2 separate regions of the Homo sapiens genome follow, and region 1 is linked to region 2. The links are contacts of gene promoters, found by promoter capture Hi-C in blood cells and fetal thymus (Javierre and others, 2016). All regions are on one chromosome and are shown on one strand. Each heading gives the region's core, a stretch centred on a gene start or on the middle of the fragment in contact. The rest is flanking DNA. Distances are from core to core; before and after follow the strand shown. Region 1 has its middle 7.6 kb from the start of UBE2J1. Region 2 holds the start of SRSF12 (serine and arginine rich splicing factor 12).

Region 1 (4,824 bases), core at 108-2,607, 240 kb after region 2:
ATTTATGAAATTCTTACAGTAATTCTGCAGCCATGGGGCATTTCGACAATATTATTGTCTTCAGAACAATCAGTACTACACTGCTTCCCATTAAAACCCAAGTTACAATTATAGGCAAACTTTGAATGATAACCACATCGTCAACTTCTCAAAAGTAGTCCTGTACTTTTTTCAGCACTAACCAACCAGAAGGTATAGGTATGCCACAATTTGCCTTCTAGCATCTTGTGAGAAAATACTGGAGCCAGTTTAACTTCTTTGGGGAATTCAAGTTGGGTCTAGGTACAGATGCTGGCTGGGCGCGATGGCTCATACCTGTAATCCTAAAACTTTGGGAGGTGGAGGTGGAGGGGAGGATCGCTTGAGGCCAGAAATTCAAGACCAGCCTGGCTAACATGGTGAGACCCTGTCTCTATGCAAAAAAAGGGGGTGGGTACAGATGCTATTAAATAGTAATATATACCATATATGCAGAATGGAAAGCAAAATTTTTCCAAAAATATCATTCCTCAGAAAAGAGAGTCACCTTGTGTTTTTGTCTTTGTCCTTTTTGAACAAAATACTCTTCAGGAAGACAATATGTCGTGAAAGGGTCACAAGTAATGGCAATTTTCTGTCTTATAAAGGTCACCTAGCAAAATCAGGGGAAAAAAGGCAAAGACATATTGATTAATTATTCCTGAGGGTATGACTTTGGATAACAAGTATTGGAGATCATTAAGTAGGCTTTTAAATAATTATTGAACAGAGAAATACAAGAAGTACTTATTTATGGTGATTATGAATATGTAGGAAAAAAACCCTGATGTTTAACAAGTGGTTCTCGAGATGTAGTAAAATCTCCACTGACAGCATTCTACTCAATGTAAGGCATGCTCTACCTTAGATAACTAGGAGGGAACTGTTAGAGGACTCACAATGTTGTTTCAGTGATGATAGAGACCCAGTTGTAAACGATGCATGTGAAGTATTTGAATAAAATTGTTTGAGGAAAAACCAATTTTTCTAAATTAGTACCATTTGCATAATTTGTGCTATTAGATGTAAATGAGTATTTAAATACTGAATCAATAAATGGTTTAAATAGACTTAAAATTATTTACATTCACAAAAGTCTACATTTGAAATATAGGTTAAATAATATAAACTCTTAAAGCTGCATAATCAAGTTGGAAAAAATGCTAACACTTGGGGTGTTGATGTGTATGTAGGTATGGAGGATGCAAGAAAGCTCCCCTAGGTGATTGCAACCCTAATCCCCTACCATTTCCCCTCCCTATCCCTTTAAACAACTACAGAGAAAACAGTGTCTCACAAATTATAAGAATTGTTTAGGGTCCTTATTTAAAAATACAGATTTCTGTATTTCTCCCTGGAGATTCTGATTCAAGAAGACCGGGATGGGGCTGGGAATCTGCATCCTTAAGCACTCTAGATGATTCATAAAATCAGGTAACTTTGGAAAATATGGGCCTAGAGCATTAAATGAAACAGTACTATGTGTATTGGTGGCACCGTTTCTTGCACCTTATAAAGCTAAGTGAATTCCTTCCTCTCCTACGGAGATGGAAAGATACATAGGACTGTCTCCCGCAGTCACCCCCTTTACTGCACTGCTTCCCAGGGAAAAGAAACAAAAGCCTAATTACCAAGGCCACCTTATAAGCAGTCTGGGAGAAGGCCAGAATTAGTTCCAAGTTATTGGCTATCTAGGTGAGGAAAGTTGAGTACTATGGGGCTTAGCTCTCTGCAAAGCCAGAGGGGAGAAAACTGAGTAGCAGCCCTCTTAGGGACTTAGGCAATAATGAAAGCAGAAGGCAAACAAAAGCAGCTTGTAGGAATGGAATTCTCCACGTGGTGATGAGGGTTAGCATGGGACTGAGGTTTAAATTGCTCTATCATAGTTGGCCTTTCATGAGAGGGGGATTGGTTTCATGACTCTCAATTTTGGAAGAATAGAATAACCCTGCTGGCCCCAGGAGCTTATTAGGAAAGATTGAGGAAGCAAGATGGTCAAGGTCTCAGGCAGCTGGACACCAGTTAATGCCCCCACCCTCCTGAGTGTAGTCACTGGATCAGCTCCCTTTCAAAATAGCACAAAAGGGCAAACTCATGGATTCTTTTTTTTTTTTTTTTTTTTTTTGAGACGGAGTCTCGCTCTGTTGCCCAGGCTGGCGCCCAGTGGCGCGATCTCGGCTCACTGCAACCTCTGCTTCCCGGGTTCAAGCGAATCTCCTGCCTCAACCTCCTGAGTAGCTGGGATTATAGGTGCGTGCCACCACTCCTGGCTAATTTTTGTATTTTTAGTAGAGACGGGGTTTCACCATGTTGGTCAGGCTGGTCTTGAACTCCTGACTTTGTGATCCACCCGCCTCGGCCTCCCAAAGTGCTAGGATTACAGGCATGAACCACCACACCCAGCCAAACTCATGGATTCTTGATAACGGATAAGACCAATGTCATCTGAATTAACAAAGGACCCCTTAGGAGTCAGACATGAGCTCATGAGTCACTAAACTCCATGTAACGCTATCATATTATAGTCAAGGATAGAGTCTGTAATAAAAATGATCCTCTCAGGCCTACAACCCCATCAACCCTTCACCCGTAATACAACCCAGCATACAAAAATACCCAAGGATGGCAGTGAAAAGAAAAACCACTTTAGTAAACACTAGAAGGCCATGATCAAATGAAAGAAAAATTCAGGAACTTACTCAGAATTTCCCATTTGTTAAGATCTCTTAATTAACAGAGAAGGAAAAGATTTTAGGTTGGAAAGAAAATCCTTAGATATTTCTGATGTGGCCAATGGGTTCATTCTAACACTACTTTACAAACCACAGGTTGTGACTCATTAGTGGATTGTGAGATCTTTTTAAAAAAAGCAAATGAAAGAGAAAATACCAGAATGCATTGCATGTAGAGAGGATATAACTTGGTAAGTTTTTTTTAGTAACATTTGTATGAGTGTGTGATAGTTTGCAATGTGAACTGTATTTATTGTGGCTCACAATAACAAGTTTAAAATTGATTTCATAAAGGTGAACTACAGTTCTGTCCCAGGGCAATTTTATCTAGCGTTCAAACATGGCTTCAGGCATGAGTTCACATGGACGTTCTACTTTTTAAAGATGGTTTAGTTTTTCAAGATTGAATATGAGAACCACACTTCATCTCAGCTTTAACTGCTAAATCATTTATTGAAACCATAAATGTAATATTCTACAAAGAAAAGACTATTGACTTGTAAATATTTGTTGCACTGTTCTAACAATATTGTTTTGGATTTTTTTTTAAATCCTGGAATTAAGTTGTTTCTTGGAATAATATGATACTTCAAATTGGTATCTTAAAATCATGAACGAGACTACTAGAGCTTATATTTTCACTTTCCCAGGACTATTGCAAAATACTGATGATACAACTGAAATAAGATCACTGCCTGAACTTAACTGTAATTTATGATAAAAGTAGGTCTTTTGAGGACCTCTAGGACAAGTATGACACATTTTAAAATCACCCAGCCTTTCAAAATTCTGAATGATGTGAAAGAGTTTTGCATTTACCATCAGATTTTTCTCACATATTCTACTGTTCCTGATGACATGTTAAGAGAATATAAACATTCTTAGGCGACACTCTTATAAATAGTTCCCTGGTACGAACAGATTGAAAAGGGTAGAAAAGTAAAATAAACTTTTGTTTGTTTGTTTGTTGAGATGGAGTCTCGCACTGTCGCCTGGGCTGGAGTGCAATGGTGCGATATTGGCTCACTGCAACCTCTGCCTCCTGGGCTCACACGATTCTCCCGCCTCACCCTCCTGAGTAGCTGGGATTACAGGCGCACACCACCACACTGGGCTAATTTTGTGTATTTTTAGTAGAGACAGGGTTTCACTATGTTGGCCAGGATGGTCTTGAACTCCTGACCTCATGGTCCGCCCACCTCAGCCTCCCAAAGTGCTGGGATTACAGATGTGAGCCACCGCGCCCGGCCAAATAAACTTTTTATTAAATCCAATTCTGGAAGTGATATTGATGTCATACATGTATTAAGCTGGAAAAGTATGAATATTAAAATAACATTTAAAACTTCCTACTTTTAAGATAATTCACCTCTTAATTACAAGGAAAAGCACTACATGTCAATAAACATTTCGAATTTACAGCCTACTTCTTCTATTTAGTCTTACATTAAATTAATAGTAAATATAGCTATTGATCTATTGGTTGAACAACTCAATTTCTTGGATGCTAGTTATTATCCATGGTCTCTGCTGCGCACAGTGGTAAAGTCCTACACAACTGCAGTTCTAAAAACTGACATCTATAAGGACCTATCAAAAATTAGTTTATTTTTCATTATTTTTAGATATTAAAATCCTTTCATCTCCAGTATCTGCCTTTTAGCCATTTCTCTAGCACAGAGTCTGGAATATAATTGGAACCCTATAAATATCTGTTGGATAAAAGAACATTGTTAATTTCCCTCAGAAAGTCACACCATCATAGGAGATTTAGCAATCATTATTGACAAAAGAATCAAAACTCATGGCTCCTTTTATTTACCCCACACTCTTTTGGTCATGCTTGTCCTCAACACATTGAGGGAGAATAAACCAAGTCCGGAGATGCAGCAAGGCCAGGGAGCAGGGTCTTGTGAACTCTGCTAAGGAGTTTGGGCTGATATCTAGGAGTCATGGAGAGCTTCAGACCTGGAGGGTGTTAAGCAAGGAAGCTTAAGAAGGTCAGGAAGCAAGGAAGGTCAGAATTGTGGTGGTTGAGAGAGGCCACTCGGGGTCTGTATGAAGGATGGATGGA
Region 2 (4,988 bases), core at 1,417-3,916:
CCTGAGTAGCTGGGATTACAGGCGCCAGCCACCACACCTGGCTAATTTTTGTGTTTTAGTACAGACGGGGTTTCACCAGGTAGGCCAGGTTGGTCTCGAACCCCTCACCTCAAGTGATCCGCCGAACTCGGTCTCCTAAAGTGCTGGGATTACAGGCGTGAGCCACCGCGCCCAGCCTTATATTTTACAGCTTTCAAATCTACAAATGGGGTTTTCTTTTTTCTTTCTTTTTTTTTTTTTTTTTTTTTTGAGACGGAGTCCTCGCTCTGTCTCCCAGGCTGGAGTGCAGTGGCGCGATGTTGGCTCACTGCAAGCTCCGCCTCCCGGGTTCACACCATTATCCTGCCTCAGCCTCCTGAGCAGCTGGGACTACAGGCACCCGCCACCACGCCCGTCTAATTTTTTTATTTTTAGTAGAGACGGGGTTTCATCGTGCTAGCCAGGATGGTTTCCATCTCCTGACCTCGTGATCCGCCTGCCTCAGCCTCCCAAAGTGCTGTGATTACAGGCATGAGCCACCGCACCCGGCCACGAATGGGATTTTCATATGATTCAACTTAATGCATCTAAAGACTAAGATTACACATACAAAATCCAGATTTCTGATTTCTCTTTACAACTAGTAAGATATATCAACAATAAGTCCAGATGTCTACATGGCAGCTGTCAGCTGGAGCCTAGAGGCAGATGCTGCACCTTTTAGATGGCATATTTCCTTTTCTATTTGCTATTCTATTTCTATTTGATAGTCCACACCATCCTACTGTGCCTTATAGGCTGGCAGCTTCACTCGTTTATATTACCCCGGCTGGCCCCTGTGAACCATTAGAATTGGAAACCTCTGATTTTTCTACAGACACCCTGAAGAGGCTTGATGCTTATTCCATTTTCAAGTTGTCTGTTCAACTGCAAGGTTTTTTAATTCTGCCCAAATCATAAATTATGTTCGTGTTTTCTATGTAATATATTGATAAAAAGGCTGACAGAAGAAATGTAAACAAGGCACCTTTTAGATGTTAACTAAGATATATTAACCACAACATATAGTTGTGATACATGTACTTGCGGTGATCAAATAAAAAATACTTGGCCGGGCACGGTGGCTCATGCCTGTAATCTCAGCGCTTTGGGAGGCCGAGCTGGGCGGATCACTTGAGGTCAGGAGTTGGAGATCAGCCTGGCCAACATAATGAAACCTCATCTCTACTAAAAATATAAAAATTAGCCGGGTGTGGTGGCACACGCCTGTAATCCCATCTACTTTGGATGCTGAGGCAGGAGAATCGCTTGAACCCGGGAGGCAGAGGTTGCAGCCAACCAAGATCGGGCCATTGTACTCCAGCCTGGGGGACAAGAGCGAGACTTTGTCTAAAAAAAAAAAAAAAACTAAAAAATAAAAAATACTTAACGTTTATTTACTCCTCAAAGGTAAATTATAATACTCATCTCAGATGACTATGGAGTCAAGAGCTCCATGTATCTATACCTCTCTGGCCCCAGGTAAATCATTAAAACTCTTAGTTTCCGCTCTCCCTTATGTACAATAAAACAGTACTGCATAGGTAGAAAGGCTGGGGGGAAGTAAATGAAGCCCAGTGAAATGAGAATGTCTATTAACACCGTTCCCTCTCCCCCCGCCCCCAATTTCTTCAGCTCCATTAAGGAAGGAAGTGCTATATGAAAAAGTCATTCCTTAGTATCTGTGTTCAGACACTCTGTAGACAAAATTCTCAACGGAGGGGTGGGGCATCAGAATCAACCAGGTGAGCCTATACTCACGCCCTTAAAAAGGGTGTTAATACTGGACTCAGAACTTTAAAGAAAAACGCACTGATCTCATTCATTGAAGTTATTTTTTGTATGCAGAATAAAATTGTGTGAATAAAATGCAAGCAGCACCGTCTGTAAGTAGACCAGAACTGGGGGAAAGAAACTGTAAGGCCCGAGTACGCATTATGGTACAAAACGTTCTCACCAGCCCCAATTCCTCTCCATCTAGGAGGGTTGGATGCGCGCGATTTTATCGGGGCACGGCGACAAAGGAGCTGAAACGCGGGCACTCGCTGGAGCGCAAACCCTCCCGACTCCCGGCGGGGAGCGACCTGAGCTCGGGAGAGGGGCGCCCCGTGTCCCACGGCCCGCCGGCTGCGGTGCTGAACCGCGGAAAGCGACGCGGGCCCGGGACACGATGTGCGCGGCGCCGGGGCTGAAAGCTGGCCGGGAGGGCGGAGGCGCGAGTTCCGCCCTGGGCCGCGGAGTAGTCCGAGGGCTCACACCTCCCCAAGTGGCGCAGCCTGGGCCCGCGGGGAGGCTCCGCGCAGCTCCCCCGAGCCTCCGCCGGGCCTCGGCCGTGCTCCGCGGCGCGGCTGTTACCCCGCCCCTCCTCCGCGCCCCCAACCTGCAGCCGCGGCCGTTCACCTGGTGGCGTCCGCGACGTTCCTGATGAACAGGGAGGTGTTGGGGGGCCTCGTGTAGCGAGACATGACCGCTTCCTCCGTTCCCTCCGGGTCTGCCCGCGGCCGCTGGACTCGCTCCGTCTCCCGCTACCGCTGCTACCACCACAGGAGCTCCGCCGGCCCCCGGCGCGACCCCCACCCCTCGGCCTCAGCCCCGCCAGCGCGCAGCCGCAGAGGCCGGCGCAGAGGGGGCGCAGCGCGGCGCCAGCCTGGACGCACGGGCCGGGGGCGGGGGCGGCGCCGGCGCGGCCCAGGGGCCGCGGGAATTCCGAAGACAGGAGCGCGGCCGTTCCCAGGCCCTATGGGATCCGGGTATGGGGGGTCCTGGAGTGCGACGGGATTTGGGGAGGGGGCGGCGAGGGCCAGTGTATGTCAGGAGGGCGGAGGCCAAGAGGGGGCTTGAGGCCGCGGCGGGGACGCCGGGGGTTAGAGGACCCAGAGGTGGTGGCGGGGCTGCGGCTGGGCGGAGGTGGGGTCAGTGAGAGCCGCTTTCAACCGCGCCCCCGCTCAGCCTCCGCGGCCCTCAGCGCATCGTCCTGAGCGCAGGACCTTGGCAGTTGGTAGGCCTCCTGCCCCTCTGGTCTTGAGCCTTCGGCTTTCCAACTGTGAGGTCTCGGTTTTGTTCGGATTTGTTTTTTTAATAGAGACGGGGTCTCGCTGTGTTGCCCAGGTGGTCTCAAACTCCTGGGCTCAAGCCTCTCCCGCCTCGGCCTTCCAAAGTGCTGGGATTACAGGTGTGAGCCACCGCGCCTGGCCTGTTGGATTTTTAAGTATTATATGATTCTTCATCCTTTATTCACTTGGGGCATAACACTCAGCTGTGAGTACATTCATTCAGATGTTTATTGAGCGTCTACTATGCGCCAGGCACTTAGCGTGGGATATAGCAATGAACAAACAGGCCAAGCCCCGCCCTCTGAGCTTACATTCTAGAGGGGGGACAAACGAATGTACAAATGAATACATGATGTAGAAGACAACAGTTTAAATGCAGGGACAGTTAAGCAAAATTTAAATTACCCTCTCCCTATTCCCCCAAAATGTTGTAGCCCATCCCCTTCTAGTTAGACTCGTCTTCGCCTTGCTCCTGTGGCCGGCAGGCACAGCCTGTTATTCAGGGCTGGGAGTGTAACCAGGCAACTCCTAAGTGTGAAGAGTGCCCCTTTTCGCTCGCAGAAGTGGTAGGCTTTGAAGAATACATGTCGTGGTCACCCTTCTAGCTCACAGCCCTCCCAGAGGCTGTGGAGGTTCCTGGGTCTGCAGCTGTACTGGAACGGTGGCTATTCTTTCATTCAGAAGGGATTGCTCTGGCACTGCAGGCACAGGGCTAGACTGGCACCGTGCCTATTCCCCTAGAGCTTAGAATTTGGTAGGGAGGCAGAATCTAACAATCACACTGGTAAAGATACAAACTATAATACAGGGCTATGAAAAGAACTATATGCTGCTGAGAGCAGGCATTGTGGGATGGTGAGCAAGGCTAGAGGGTCACTTATGTTCCCTGAACAAGTCTTGAAGAGATGGGTAAAGAATGGAGAAGAGTAATTAGTGCAGTGGAACAGCACGTGCAAAGGCTTTGAGGCAATATAGTAAATGAGGCAAAACAGGAGCATGAGGCTGGAGAAGAGTTGGAAAATGAGGCTGGAGAGCAGGCTGGATTCATAATACAAAAGCTTAGAATGCTTACCATGTGTTAGTTGGCTAGGGCTGCCATGACAAAGCACCACAGATTTGGTGGCCCGAAACAACAGAAATTTATTCTCTTGTAGTTCAGAGGCCAGAAGTCTGAAATCCAGGTGTCCGCAGGGCCATCATCTATCTGAAGGCACTCTAGGGGAATCCTCTGTTTCTTCCAGTCTTTGGTGGCCCCACACATGTTTTGGCTGTGGATACATAGATCCAGTCTCCACTTCTGTCTTCACATGGCCTCCTGTCTTTCTCTCTCTCTTTCTCTGTCTCTCTCTCTTTTTATTTTAGATGGAGTCTATGTTGCCTAGGCTGATTTCAAACTCTTAGGCTCAAGTGATCCTCCTGCCTTGGCCTCCCAAAGTTGAGATTACAGGTGTGAGCCACTGTATTAGTCCGTTTTCACACTGCTGATAAAGACATACCCAAGACTGGGGAGGCCTCACAATCATGGTGTAGGGCAAAAGGCACATCTTACATGGTGGCAGACAGAGAATGAGAGCCAAGCGAAAGGGGTTTCCCCTTATAAAACCATCAGATCTCGTGAGACTTATTCACTACCAGGAGAACAGTATGGGGAACTGCCCCCATGATTCAGTTATCTCCCTCTAGGTCCCTCCCACAATACGTGGGAATTATGGGAGCTAACAATTCAAGATGAAATTTGGGTGGGGACAGAGCCAAATGATATCAGCCATCTATCCTATCCAGTTCTATCTCTTATAAGGACATTTGTCGTTGGATTTAGGGCCCACTTGGTTAATTCAGAATGATCTCATCTTGAAATCCTCACTTACATCTGCAAAGATTCTTTTTCCAGATAAGGATACATACCTGGAGATAGGA

Evidence for each region. The method cuts DNA at HindIII sites, captures the fragments that hold promoters and counts their contacts. A CHiCAGO score of 5 or more calls a contact.
Region 1: a contact is called between a fragment that was not itself captured here and the fragment with the promoter of SRSF12 in region 2, in 1 of 17 cell types (neutrophils). The highest score is 5.2, in neutrophils.

Annotation. Positions count from the first base shown.
Region 1 is chr6:89,357,923-89,362,746 of GRCh38, forward strand. No RefSeq gene overlaps it. Among named protein-coding and RNA genes, the nearest start is that of UBE2J1, 7.6 kb to the left of the region's middle. The HindIII fragment of the contact is 6,763 bases long and covers 1-4,739 here.
Region 2 is chr6:89,115,405-89,120,392 of GRCh38, forward strand. SRSF12 (serine and arginine rich splicing factor 12) reads right to left here and starts at 2,667. Exons shown (of 5, transcript NM_080743.5): 1 at 2,419-2,667. The coding sequence starts at 2,483. It also overlaps a transcript of PM20D2 not described here. RefSeq lists a silencer at 2,251-2,520. The HindIII fragment of the contact is 10,924 bases long and covers 1-4,127 here.